2 separate regions of the Homo sapiens genome follow, and region 2 is linked to region 1. The links are contacts of gene promoters, found by promoter capture Hi-C in human tissues and cell types (Jung and others, 2019). All regions are on one chromosome and are shown on one strand. The core of a region is centred on a gene start or on the middle of the fragment in contact, and the rest is flanking DNA. Distances in the headings are between cores, read along the strand shown. Region 1 holds the start of DTD2 (D-aminoacyl-tRNA deacylase 2). Region 2 overlaps AKAP6 (A-kinase anchoring protein 6).

The links. Contacts are between HindIII fragments. The study calls those that stand out against the background at their distance.
Region 2: a fragment that was not itself captured here is called in contact with the fragment with the promoter of DTD2 in region 1 in 1 of the 25 tissues and cell types used here (dorsolateral prefrontal cortex).

What each region holds. Positions count from the first base shown.
Region 1 is chr14:31,454,200-31,461,518 of GRCh38, forward strand. It overlaps DTD2 (D-aminoacyl-tRNA deacylase 2), which reads right to left and starts at 3,307. Exons shown (of 3, transcript NM_080664.3): 1 at 3,084-3,307. The coding sequence starts at 3,194. RefSeq lists enhancers at 2,326-2,911, 2,912-3,497, 2,942-3,151, 3,292-3,471. The HindIII fragment of the contact is 4,347 bases long and covers 141-4,487 here.
Region 2 is chr14:32,558,090-32,565,408 of GRCh38, forward strand. All of the region lies in intron 4 of AKAP6 (A-kinase anchoring protein 6), which reads left to right. Among named protein-coding and RNA genes, the nearest start is that of AKAP6, 230 kb to the left of the region's middle. The HindIII fragment of the contact is 4,148 bases long and covers 2,292-6,439 here.

The sequences.
Region 1 (7,319 bases), core at 2,057-4,556:
TATATTAGTGTTTATTAAATGAGTATGTAAAAATAAATTTAAGGGCAGAGGCACAATTTATTTCACATTTTAACTTCCAAAGCACTTTACAGGCTGTTTTGTACACGATAGGGATTCAGTTTATCTGTTGATTGCATTAACATTCAACTATATGTTCCAGGCTCTATGCGTTATCCAAAGAATTTTCTAGATAAATGTAAATGCAGCTCTGCACTCACACGTGATTTACCTGGAAAAGAAGTGAGTTTTAAAAAGTACAATCGTGCTACTGAAACAATAGGCAAGGGCCTCCAATGCATACCCACGAGAAGCTGGCAAGTTATTATAGGTATTTGCACTACTGTCACAGGCCTCTCCACTAGTATTGTTTTCATCATGAATCGAAATCTTAAGCATATTTATATTTGGACACATGCAATGTCAGAAATAAATACCTAATCATTTGCAGAACGATACCTGTTCTTTCCACTAACATTATCTCCTCATTAAGGTCTTTGCCTTTCATTTATTCCATAATAGATGTTAAGCTGTGACTTCAAGTCAAAAATCACTTTCCTTATAACTTCTTTGGTATAAAACATTTCAAATATATAGAAAAATACAGATAATTCTCACTGTAGCTTTAAAAAGTTCACTTACCAGGAACAAAAACATTAGTCTGTGACAGCAAAGTTCTAAATGAATGAAACTAAGAACAAGCAAAGAAAGTAACCTTCAAATCTTGACAATTAAAATGCTGTTTCTAAAAAAACAAGAACTTTTAATAATAGAACAGGGTAGAGAATATGTAAGAAGAAAGAATTTACATTTTCTCACCATCTAAATTACTTGTCAGCTCTTTAAACTAATTTAGTTATGTGTGTAGGAGTGAAAGGGAAAGCCTTTAAAATAGTTTTTAAGTTTATAAACACAAACTGATAGTTTGGATGCCAGCAATAAAATACATGTGATTTTGCATAAGGAGATGTAGCCTGAACAACATAAAAAAGATAAATAAGCATGGAAGGAAACTAAATGACTGATAGTTTGCAATTATAGTGTCTGGATGCAACTATAAAAATGGATAATTCGGCCGGGCACGGTGGCTCAAGCCTGCAATACCAGCACTTTGGGAGGCCGAGGTGGGCGGACCACAAGGTCAGGAGATCGAGACCATCCTGGCTAGCACGGTGAAACTCCGTCTCTAGTAAAAATACAACAAATTAGCCAGGCGTGGTGGTGGGCGCCTGTGGTCCCAGCTGCTTGGGAGGCTGAGGCAGGAGAATGGCGTGAACCCGGGAGGCGGAGGTTGCAGTGAGCCGAGATTGCGCCATTGCACTCCAGCCTGGGTGACAGAGTGAGACTCTGTCTCAAAAAAAAAAAAAAAAAAAGGATAATTATTTTATTTATTATTTATTTTTGAGATGAGGTTTCACTCTGTGGCTCAGGCTGGAGTGCAGTGGCGTGATCTTGGCTCACTACAACCTCTGCCTCCCGGATTCAAGAGATTCTCCTGCCTCAGCCTCCCGAGTAGCTGGGATTACAGGTGCCCGCCACCAAGCCCGGCTAATTTTTGTATTTTTAGTAGAGACGGGATTTCAACATGTTGGCCAGGCTGGTCTCAAACTCCTGACCTCAAGTGATCCGCCGGCCTTGGCCTCCCAAAGTGCTGGGATTACCGCGCCTGGCAGGTTAATTCTTTAGATAGGATGGCAAAATAAAATAATAAAATTTCAAATAAGGAAATCAAGACCTCACAAAAAATCATGACAAAAATAAGAAATAAGAAAAGTGAATTTCTGGGAAAGGAGAGAGATAAGAATACAGGAATTTCTATGCTTATATTTCCAAATTAGCACAGGGCAACAGATTCTGATTTTAGAATAATCACCCACACATCATATAGTTCACGGGTACTATTTACAATAAGTAGGCGGGGTGCGGTGGCTCAGGCTTGTAATCCCAGCAGTTTGGGAGGCTGAGGCAGGTGGATCACCTGAGGTCAGGAGTTCCAGACAAGCCTGGCCAAAATGGCGAAACCCCGTCTCTGCTAAAAATACAAGTTAGCGTGGTAGCTTGCGCCTGTTGTCCCAGCTACTCGGGAGGCTGAGGAAGGAAAATTGCTTGAACCCGGGAGGCGGAGGTTGCAGTGAGCCGAGATCGTGCCACTGCACTCCAGCCTGGGCGACAGATCGAGAATTCATCTCAAAAAATAAAATAAAATATAAATAAATAAAATATAAAAAATAAAATAAATGTAAAATAATAACTAAAATTGTTTTAAGTAATGCTAGATCTGGGACCGAATTCAGCAGAAAAGGCGAGCGAATGAGATTTTGCTACACTGAAGTTTCTGAGTATCTACAAAAGTCTTAATTATGAACTAATTTTTTTCTTACATTTCAACGTACTCCAAAAATACGTCAGAGGCCTTAAAGAAAATTTTATTTGTTTTTGTATGCAGTGGGGGCAGGCGGTCTTAAAAAGTAAAGTATGTATGAAAGTAGAAGGAACTCATAGTGACATAAATGTTTTAAATTCTTTGGAGAAATGTGTTTGATAAGGCAACATTGTTATAAAAGTAGAGGTCTTTGTTTCTCAGTTGGAAATTGGTCAAAACTTTTAAAAGGCTTCTTGAAATAGAATTGTTTCTTAGGAAATCTCATTTCTATGCTAAGACCAAGTCAACATAGGGGGGAATTCGACGCGATCTGAGGCGTAAGTCAAAGCAGATCATGAACTCTTGCAGCAAACCTGACCTACAAGCTTGCCCCCGACCAGCATAGACCACGAGCTGCAAGGGGTCTGAGACAGTAAGGCCTGAAGTTCACCGAACTCAGTTTCAAATACCTGTGGTCCCCCCAAGAAGGGAGACACGCTCTTCCTCTCGGGTGCTACAACTGGCGCTGGGGAACGGTGATGCTGGACCGAAAAGACAAGCGCAGCCAGGCAGGCCACCGCGGCCAGCTTCAAGCTGACCCGGTATCCCCGCGGCCGGACCGCCGGTCTCAGAGGGAGACACAGAGCGGACGAGTCACCGAGACAACGCGGAAAAAACCGCCCCGCACGCCGGAGGATAACGAGAGCTGCCGGGCTGACGTTACCTCCACCCACTGGGCCGCGACGTCCCCATCGGCTGGGCGAATTTGCAGCCGGGCGTGCAGGCACTGCTGTAGGAGCGCCCGGGCCTGAGGAATCCGGCTACCCTCAGCCATGGCTTAAGCCAGCGCCGCGGCCGGACAGTTACTAGGCCATGTGTCGCTGGCCCCTCCCTCGACGCGCTGGCGGGGCAGACGAGGCGGGGCACGACGAAGGGCCTGCGCCGATTGCCCAGTGGCCCCGCCCTTAGGAGGGCGGGGCCTCGGACTGACTCTCGAATGTCCCGGATGTGCGGTCTTGGAGGCCGGCGTAGCGCTAAGCTTCTCGGCAGCACCTGCCCAACTCTGTAGAAGGCGCTCAGTGTATACTTTTATTAAACGATTGAAAAGACTCGTTAAATCTCTTTCCTACAAACCTTTTAAGAAACATTTTTCACCTCAGAAAGCTTAGGTTCCAACTGTTGAAAAATTTTAAATCTGCTTGATTTAAATTCATGTTATGCCCATATGAAAGTAAGTAAACAAATAATCGAATCATAAAGCAAGCGGAGATGGAACTAAAAGCTATATATACATCCTTCAAAATTTTCCTTATTCCAATCAATAAAAACAATGCTGCCTCCTCTATCGGGAATGCCATAAATTATTCTGATTCCACAGTTGTGAAAAGGTATTGGTATGCTATACGAATACACATTCTTTAGAAGATATCCTTGTTAAAAATGTTCTTATCCAAGAAAGTATGATTGTTAATAACTTAGCCCGCTACTAATACAAAAATAAAACAGCTTATTCTGATGCATATGACGTAAATTCTGTGATGCATTTTCTGGAAGTACATATTAGAATGTAAATAAAACTAAACAAGGGCTTGATTTTCTTTCCCATGTAACGTATTCCTTAAACATGCATCAGATTAGCATTTATTTGTCTATGGGCTTGGATGGTTTAGATGAGGAATAATAGTGTTACCCTGATTGCATTACCCAGGTCATTGATTTGGGCTCAGTTGACACAATGTGCCTATACATTCGGATCTGTTGTTTAAAAAGATGACATCACTGACAGTGTTGCTATCCATACAAAGTAGTGTGACTGAAGAAAATAGTCCATGCATAATCAACAGTCCTTTGTACACAAAATCGAAGCTGCTTGTTTGCTGGTTATCTTGCAGCCAGGTTTACACTTTTAGTAAAAACAGAAAGCAAAATCTCACATGATCTCTGATTGTTGCATTGCAGGGATTCCAACAGTTGTTGACATTTGTCTGCAAAGCACAGACAAGTTGAATTGCTTCATGTCTGCACCTTTATGTCATTATAACTACTGAGTCTCTTTTCTCTCCGGCTCTCAGATTCAGATTTTACAGGCCTGAAAGAAACTTTGACATACAAACCATTAGCTATGTCCCAGAATAAGAAAAGACTTTGGTGTCCATTTGTATGTGGCTGCAGGAAATAGGGAGGTCTATAGAGAATAGGTTATGTGGTTCGCAGAGATCTTTCTACAGAGAGGGTTTCTTTAACAAATTGGGAAACCCTTCCTGTGAGTAGAATAGATGGAGTATGGATGGTAATGGTTAGCTTCTCAAAAATCACTAATTACTTTAAACCCTCCTATTGAGTGAGGATCTCGTGGACATTGCTGTAGGTACTGTAATAGGCTGTGGCTCACTTATTTTTTACTTCTATTTGCAGAAGGCTATAGAGAGTGGCCACCAAAGACAGCATTTCCTTTCTGTATTTTATTTTTTGAACACTTAGTTTCATTCTGCAAATAATTTAAGAAGGAAGGACATGCATGCAATAAAATAGTAAAATGTGAATTAAAGCATTAGAAATAAAGAAACTAGAATTATGTCAGTAAGCCACAATGGGGGAAATTGAAAACAGGTAAGACAGTGGTTCTCAACTGGAGTGCTGAGATGATATAGTATGCAGCAAAATTTTCACAAATGTATAACTTTAATTTTTGTTATAAAACAATTATGTTCATTGTATGTAGTATTGAGGTGCTGTAGGTTGTACAATTTGTTTCAAGTTGGAACTAAAGGCAAAGCATAGCATTAAGTTGGCTTTACAAGAAGATGGTGGTTCACTGGAATGTGAGAGAGCTTTGCCTTGTCATTGTATGAGAAATCATTGAGCAGAGATAATTCTCAAACACCTACAATGCTGAAAGTGTACCATATGGATAGGGGATTAATTGTGGATGGGTTCTATGTCCTCTGAGATGGTACAATAACTAATTTAGTGTTATTTTACCTTCTTTAATTCATTTAAGTTGGCTGCCCTAAATTCTGGCATTCAAAGTATTTCACAAACATGAAAAGTTTGAGAACCATTTCTAAAAGATTCCTTAGAGTTGATGCTAAGCTTCCTGGTTGTAAATAGGAGAGGATAGGGAAGGGCAGTATAATCTATTTCATAGTTCTAGGGATAAGCAGAGCTTTTCCTCAGATTTAGCTCTCAGCTGAGCCTCTTACCTGAGACTTTATATAGGATATGTTAATAAATACAAGTGCAGGCCTGGCGAGGTGGCTGATGCCTGTAATCCCAGCACTTTGGGAGGCTGAGGTGGGTGGATCACGAGGTCAGGAGATGGAGACCATCCTGGCTAACACGGTGAAACCATTTTTAGTCTCTACTAAAAAATACAAAAAATTAGCCAGGCGTGGTGGCGGGCACCTGTAGTACCAGCTACTCGGGAGGCTGAGGCAGGAAAATGGCATGAACCCAGGAGGCAGAACTTGCAGTGAGCCGAGACTGCGCCACTGCACTCCAGCCTGGGCAACAGAGCGAGACTCCGTCTCAAAAAAAAACCAAAACAAAACAAAACAAAAAAAAACCAAAAAAAAACAAGTGCAACTGGAAGAGGTAGGTATCTTATCTTAGGGAAGACAGTATCTAGCCCTCTAGTTTAAAGCCCAGATATTTTTTTTTCTAGTTTAAAGCCCAGAGATTTATTTTTTTTTGAAAAAAAAAATAATAACCAGGTTCTGAGAAATTGGTTAACATTAACTAAAATGCACATTAGATTGGGGTAGAACCAGAATACTAATTTAGTCATTTACAACAAGAAATATTGCCATGACATGGAGTAGAAATTCTCACATAGGGCATGGTCAGCATGTTTCCCCCTGTGGTGAAGCATAGGAAGCTAGATCATATTCAGAAGTCTCTTTATTAATTAACTATGAGAAATACTCAAAATCGGTATGACCAGCATATTATTTTTATGTAGAGAGAGTAACACAGAAATCAGGATGTTGCTTGGTAAATGAGAACTCGAACAAAGAGGGTGAGAAAATTTTTTTGTGGAAGACACCTAACTATGACCCCAAGTACTAAGCACAGGAGACAGTGAGAAATATACTAAACTATGTCCCTACAGCAAATGTAGTATCAGATTTTCTAGGGCAATTTCTTTAATTGTTCCTTGATAAAATCAGAATCCCTTGATATAACCCCACAATAAAAGCAAGCCTTCAGATGTAATATGGTCTAAATATACTAATGTGACGGTCCTACTCTACTAGAGATTAATGCATGAACTTTGTGTACTTCACTTAATCCTAATCAATTTTCTCAACTGGGCTTTTGAGAAGTGTTGAACCATGGGATCGTTCAAGGTTTAGTCCATGGCAAGGGCTTGTGGAGTAGGGTATTTTATATTATTGACCAAGACACTGTGATTTAGAGATCAAAAGAGCAAACAGGGAGGTTACACTGTATATTGAAAAGGGAAAGGCCAAATTAGGACGTGCATTTGGATGAATAGCTATGCTGGTTATATATGAAGGTGGATTTAAGGATTTCTGAAAAAGTAGTTTTGTCTACTATAACACATAAATGAAAAAATTAGGTTCCTAAAGTTCTATACAGTGGCAGATATAATTTTGGCTTGGAAAAATTGTCTAAGCAGTTGTCTTGACAGAAAACAGATGGCACACTTTCAAAAGGTGAAGAGAAGCTGAGCATGGTGGTGGCTCATGCCTGTAATCCCAGCACTTTGGGAGGCTGAGGCTGGAGAATCATTTCAGCCCAAGAGTTTGACACCAGCCTGGGCAAGATGGTGGGACCCCCATCTCTACTGAAAAAAGAAAGAAGGTCGGGCACGGTGACTCACATCTGTAATCCCAGAACTTTGGGAAGCCGAGGCAGATAGATCACTTCAGCTCAGGAGTTCGAGACCAGCCTGGCCAACATGGTGAAACCCCATCTCTACTAAAATACAAAAAGT
Region 2 (7,319 bases), core at 3,116-5,615, 1.1 Mb after region 1:
AATACCAAGGAAAAAGCCAGATTCTTAAAGAATTGGGTAGGTTCAGTTTTGTAATTAAAATGAGAAGATTCAAGAATCCTAAAGGATCACAGATTGAACATGAGTTGACAGTGCACATAATTATTAAACAAAAAGTATAGAAGTTTAATACTGTAGAAACTCTGAATACTTTTTAATTTTTATGATGCACAATCTAAAATTTTGTTTTAGGTCCTGGATGTAGTACTTGAGGTAGATATGGCAACATAATTCAAGGCTCTGTGTCTGTTACATAAGACAATATTTGGTAAGTGCCAAGGGAAAATTCATGCAGTGGGAGAACAGAAAAAAGAAGATAATACAAATGTAGCTTGATGAAGCATCACAGGAGAGGGAATACTTGATCTGGGCCTTGAATGATGAGTAGAATTTATATAGCAGAGATGAGGAGGCATAATGTTAGTGACAGGAACTTGTGCATATGCCAGGGTGGAGGGCAAGAATATTCAAGGTATGTTTGGGTGATAGTTAAGAGAAATCGTTGGTGTTTTGGAGTATAGGCTAAGCCACTATAAACAAAGAGACCCCAAAATACAATAAGATAGAAGTCTCTTTCTCTTTTACCTAGAGGCAGACAGTCGAGGGAAGATAGAGGTCGTCCTGAGGTCCAGGTTGCTTCTCCCTCTTGCTCTTCTATGGCTCACCACCAATACCATGTCTGCATTCCAGCTCACAAGAAGGGGAAAATGGAGGGCAGCCACCTTTCTTCTTATGGATACGACTTAGAAGTTACACATGCCACTTTTGCTCGCATCCCACTGGCCCACTTTGTCACATAGCATTACCTGACCTCAAAGGCGTTTTGGAAATTAGCCTCTAAGCTATGAATATTGGGAGGAAGGTGTCTCGTAAACTAACTACTAGTTAGAAATAACTTTGTTAGAGGAAGGTGAATGTGAAGTTAGAAAGAATAGGGCCAAGATATGAGGGACTTTGAATTCCAAGTGTTTGCATAGCATAGACACAAAATCAATACTATTGAATGCATGAATAAATGAGTAGTTAAGGGAATGAGTAAGTGAACGTATCATTGAGTTTGAACTTTATTCTCTAGATCAGGGCTACAAACTAAAATTAAGAGGCCAGGAAGATAGTATAAATGAATCATAAAGCCAGCTGTAAATGGGGAGTGATGGGACTGAATCACCTGGAAGATATGTGACATGTCTTAAGGGCAGCCACTACTCAGCTCCAGCTGATAGTTGCATGGGAATGTGGGCCATTTGTGCCAAGATTTTGGAATTTTTAAAAAGAAGGAAGAAATCTGGGTTTTATGTGACATCTCCCAATTTTTAGATGTTGGATCTGAACAATTTTTAAATAGGTCAAATAAAAACACATCTTTGGGATAGTTTGGACTTTAAGTCACTAATTCGCAATCTTTGCGAAGATGGGAAACTACTTAAAATGTTTGGCCCAGAGAGTTGGTAGTTTAAGAAGGTTAATCTGACTGTGGTATGCTGGGCACACCTCTAGCAGTAATTTTCAACTGTGACTGCAAATTACAATCACTGGGAAGCTTTAAAAAAATAAAAAAACCTCTTTATCCACCCCAGACCAATTAAATCAGAATCCCTGGGGTTGGGTATTTTTTAAGTTCTTCAAGCAATTGTAATGTACAGTTGCGGTTGGGAGGTAGTCCTCTAAGCCTAATCTTTTTTTTTTTTTTTTTTTTTAAGGCAGAGTCTTGCTCTGTTGCCAGGCTGGAGGGCAGTGGTGCAATCTCCTCTAAGCCTAATCTTAAGGGTTATTGAAATAGCCTAGACATGTGGTAAAAGGGTCTGAACTGTGGGTCTGGAAGCTGACTGAAGAAAGAAATAGATAGGTGGGAGATATTATAAAGGGCAAATTGATAAAATTTTGTGGCTGTTTTAAATAGGAGAGTAGAAGAGGAAAGGAGTCAAAAAGAGTTGAAATTTCAAGCTGAAATTTGGGGGCTGGGAGATATAAGGAATTTAACAAATGTCTCCAAGGCATACATAAACTTAAGATACACAGTAGATGAATGGGGCCCAAATCCAGTTTGGGAATTCTAAGTCAACATAACATTTTAAAAGGTAAGGCTGCACAATTCTTTTTAAGGATAATAAAAATCTTTTGTGTATATTTTATTTGTTGCAATGCCAGGACAAAAACTGTATATTAACATTGCTAATGGATTTGTTGAGACATGTCAGGATCATTGCGCAAGGTTGGTCCAGAAGAACCGTAGGGATCCAAAGCAAATTCCTTGCTGTTTAACATTAGGAATGTTTCAGTCCTGCCTCAGTTTGGTTTCTGTAGAGCTTTCAATGGGTCTTGAGTTGTTATCAGTGATGATTTAGCACCACCGTGAGGCTGTATCCAGTCACTGCATATGGCTGTTGGCCTCTGCAATATATACGGAAGATGATCTGCCCTTTTGTTTGCAGCTTTAAACATCAAGGTGAAAATAGTTCTTTGTAATTTTCTTCGTATGGAAAGGTTATGATGCAATAATATCTTGTATTAAGATGATAACAGTGCCTAACTGCATTTGATGGCAAATATTACTATCGTGATGAAACTCAAAAGATGGATAAACTCAACATTGCGTTTTTATTATTTATTTATTTTTTTAGCGTTGCATTTTTAAATTCAACTAAAATGATTCTTGGAACTTTAGTGAATTATTCTTTATCTTTAATCCCGAAGTCATAATTTTGTGTTGCTGGTAGGATGTTTCAGAAAAATAACAATTTAAATACAAAACAAAACTTTGTTATTTCTTGTCCCCTTGCAAACTGTCGGGCAGAATGCTAAGGGGTTTATTCACTTAGTACATCACTTCATTTAATTCTCAAGAAAAAAATTCTTCCTTGATGCAGACACTGTTACATTATATTTTCATTTTATAAATTAGAAGAGACAGAAGTTAGTAATTTACTCAAGGATATAGAACTTAAACATTGGGCTCAGTTCACAATCCCTCATTTTAATTATGAAAACTTGAATAAGTCACTTAAAGCTTACTGTATAAGTCTTCTAGTCTTCAAAATGAGATGTTAATTATGTTTGTCATGCCTTTGCTCAGATTATTGTATGAAACTACAAAGAGCAAAGGGGTCATTGTAAATCTAAAGGCTACATAAATATTAGTTTTATTATTATTGTGACTTTTCCTATGAATCTAGGGAATTAGCACCATATATATTAGAAATAACTAGGGTAAGAACCTTAATTCTGCCCCTAAGTAGCATCGTGACCTTGGAAATGTAACCTCGCAAGCCTCAGTTTTAAAAAATAAATATTAATAAAGGAATAGAATTGAATGACCTATAAATACTTTTCTGTTCTGAAATTTTATGAGAGACTAACTGTGAGGAATAACTAAGAGAAGCACTCATTTCTTTGTACAATATTCCTTGGCGTATATCACTTCAACATGGCTGACTTTGTGTTCCTTGGAACTTTGGGTGAACTCAAGTTTCCCTTAGAAGATCCTAATGGTAAGTGAATGTGAGGCTGTGACATTAACGAGCCTGGAGGAATGAGCCATTCATGCTGCATTCCTAGCACTGTAATATGACAAGAGCCAGACATCCTTGAGGAATTTGGGGCCTGGCTAGAGTTTATAAGATGCCAAGAGACCAGGGCCAGTGGTGACAGTAAACAAGTGAGTTACCCAGTAAGAATTAGATATGGATTAGCCTGAATTTATGGCAAATAAGGTCAGCTAAGTGAAGCAGTTAAAAACATTTGCCTTGGCAGACTTGTCATTGTGATGCCTTAAAATTACCCATCAGCACTGAGGCTTGTGCTCTGTTCAGACAATATGGGGGGAAATCATTTCAAGAGTGTGGGTTCTGTTTCAAGGTCACTCATGATGTCAGGCCCTGTCTGAGGTTATAGAATTTTCTATCTAAGAATGATAGGCTTGAATTTTGCATGGTGATTAAGCAACTTTATCCAGGAAAGGTGCTGCCTGTAATATCTGCTTCATACGCTTTCCATTCTCAGGTTGATGAGGCTCAGTGCATTGCTTTTTAGGAAGCCCAGTGGCTTTACTATTTACCTTCATGTTTTGTCTAGGAATAAAGGAAGTTGTATTTTCTTTTTTTAATGCTTTAAGAAAAACTGGAAAGGTGTCATTTATAGATGATACTCATATTTTTGGATTTGTCTAGAGACTAGTACTACTTGCTTGAGAAAGGCGTATGTGTGTGTGGGTGGGGAGGGAGTCATAATTGGAGATCTAATACTCTTTTTTCTTCCTACCTGAGCCCCAAAATAAAACTGACAAGTTGAGCTAACAGAAATACTTTTGCTTTTGATTTATTTTCTATAGCATAGAGAAGACTATCGGTAGTCTTTTAAAGTAAAGTTTCAGGCCAGGCCCAGTGGCTCACACCTGTAATCTCAGCACTTTGGGAAGCTGAGGCATGTGGATCACTTGAGGTCAGGAGTTCAAGACCAGCCTGGCCAACATGGTGAAACCCTGTCTCTACTAAACATATAAAAATTAGCTGCGTGTGGTGACAGGTGCCTGTAGTCCAAGCTACTCAGGAGGCAGAGGCAGGAGAATTGCTTGAACCTGGGAGGCGGAGTTTGCAGTGAGCCGAGATTGCACCACTGCACTCCAGCCCAGGTGACAGAGCGAGACTCCATATAAATAAATAAATAGATAGGTAGATAGATAAATAAATAAAGTTTCAGGCTGGATTCTGTAGTGTAGTAATCACATTCACCTCACAAAGTTTCATTAAAGCTATTTTCCTTATCCTATCCTTATTACATCTAAAGTTTTATATTGTTTGGTGCATGCCATTGTATTTATTCCTGTTAAGAAGACTGTTGACCAGAGTCTTCTTAATAGGATGTAGGGTCCATGAAGAATTATATCTGTGCCCATTTCACTTTCTAGACACACTTTTATACAAGGGAAACATGGCTGGGAAGAACTTCCAAAACCACCTTGCTCATGGTACCAAAAGGATGAATATTCAGAAAATTAGTAGATGGAACTCCACAGTAAAGGAAAAGATACATTCATAGTAAGAGATTTCTGGGGGAATGCATATTAATGGGTGAGGGCATTCTTTGGTGCTGGATGGTTGTGAAGCATGGTGACTATGAATGTGGGCTCTGGAGCCATATTGTGTAAACCATGTCTCAGCTTATCACCTGTGTTACAATACCTGTGCTATTGTAAGCAGGTGACTTGACCTCTCCGTGCTCCAGTTTCCTCCTGCAAAGGAGAATTAAAAATCATATCTGCCACAGAGAGTCATGATTAAATGTCTTAAAATGTGTAAAGAGCTCAGAATAGTACCTGGCATGTAGTAAACACTCAATAAATGTTAGCTCTTGTGGTTGTTATTGTTGTTCTCATTATTAGTACTGTGGGGGGGGAAGGGTCAGGTCTTAGCAGCTCCTTGTATAGAGATGACTGGTCTTTTGACATCAAATGCCACCACCTTGTTTTTTCCTTCCACCTTCAGCCACCTTGGTTATCATGGAGCTTCAGCCTCCCATACAACTCTCACCCACAGTGGTTAAGGGTGCTCTTCGCCCTTCGTGGGACCTGTGATGGCCACCCCAGGTTCCTGCACCCTCTTCTCTGTAAGACTCTGCCTTGTCTTCCTGCCTTGTCAGATGATTCTTGAATTGTATTAGAGATAATTCTCCTCTAAGTGGCCCAATAATTTTAGTTAATGTACTTCTTTGACATCTTAGGAAGTTTATATAGGGAAATTTATGCTATGCATGTGTGTTCAGACAAATACAAACAACATTCTAATTTATAATTTTGTCACACAACAACCTTATGAATAATATATACTTATTTATTTATAATTGGTATTTATACATACAGTCGTTCCTCAGTATCCGTGGGGGATTCGTTCCAAGACCCCCTGTGGATATCAAAATCAATGATGCTCAAGTCCCTTATGTAAATTGTATAGTATTTGCATATAACCTACACACCTTGTGTATGCTTTAAATTATCACTAGGTTACTTGTAATATCTAATATAATGTAAATGCTATGTAGATAGTTGTTATACTGTATTGTTTAGAGAATAATGACAAGAAGAAAAAGTCTATACATGTTTAGTACAGATGTCACCATCCATTTTAAAGAAAATATTTTCAATCCAAGCTTTGTTGAATTTACGGATGTAGAACCCACAGATATGGAGGGCCGACTGTATTTATAATACATATTTATAATTATATGCTTATAAATAATAATTCTTACAGAACTCTTTACCTAGAGGTAGATTCATTACAGTATATTAAGGGATGAAAAAGGAAGGGCCTGTAATAGGTTTTGAACTGTCCCTCAAACCCCTGATTGCTAAATATACGAAGATTGAGAAAGTGTATTGGAAAGGCAGCAATAGATTGGGATGATTTGTTGGGAGAGGAGCATTTGAGCTTGATCTTGAAGGATAGATATAGTGAATGGAGTAGAAGGCATTGGGAGGGTATGTGGAAGACTCCAAAGATCAGTTCCCTAATTGGAAGAGGGGCAAGTTGTCTGAATGTCTCAGGCTTTGAAGGAAGCTCTATATGCAAGAACCTCAGATGTTAACAGTCAGAAGGCATGAAAAATCATTCAGCTCAATGCCCTCATTTTACAAGTAGAATCTGTCTCTCCCAAGCCACAGTACTTCCTGTTAGAACATCCTGTCTCCTGGTTATTACCAGATCTTGCAAGCTTGTCACAAAGTGGCAGCAAATACTTTCTTTCCCAAGATCAACACTAAATGTTTCCAGTGCTCTGCAGCTGTTGGCTCTTTATCTTTCTATCCTTGAGAGACTTTGAGGAAATCCCTTTTCTCTGAATTCTGTTTATGTTTAAAGAGTTTCACAGTTGATTTTGAGGCACAGCCAGTGTCAGAATCATTGAGATAGACAACAGAATGACGGACAGAGTGAACAAAGTTGAGTGCATTGCATTCTTGGGCCTCATAATGTAGATGACACAGGTGGATCTTCCCTTTACGTACTGTTCCTAGGCTATCTCATCTGTGCCCATGGTCTTTAGTACACCCTGTATGTTGCTTTCTCTTACTAGATCTTGCTGTAGAGTTCCAGGCTTATACAACTAGCTGTCTTATTAAATGCTTCAACTGATTAAGTTGAGAAACCAAATTTATGATACATAATATCATATTCATGATCTTCCTGCAAAACTATTTTTGTAATGCTTCAAGAAAAACTGGAAAAAATTCTCCTTCTGAATTTTGTATTTCCTCTTTCAGGGAATGGTACCTCCAACCAAAATAGAAAGTTGGCAGTCATCCCAGATTCTAA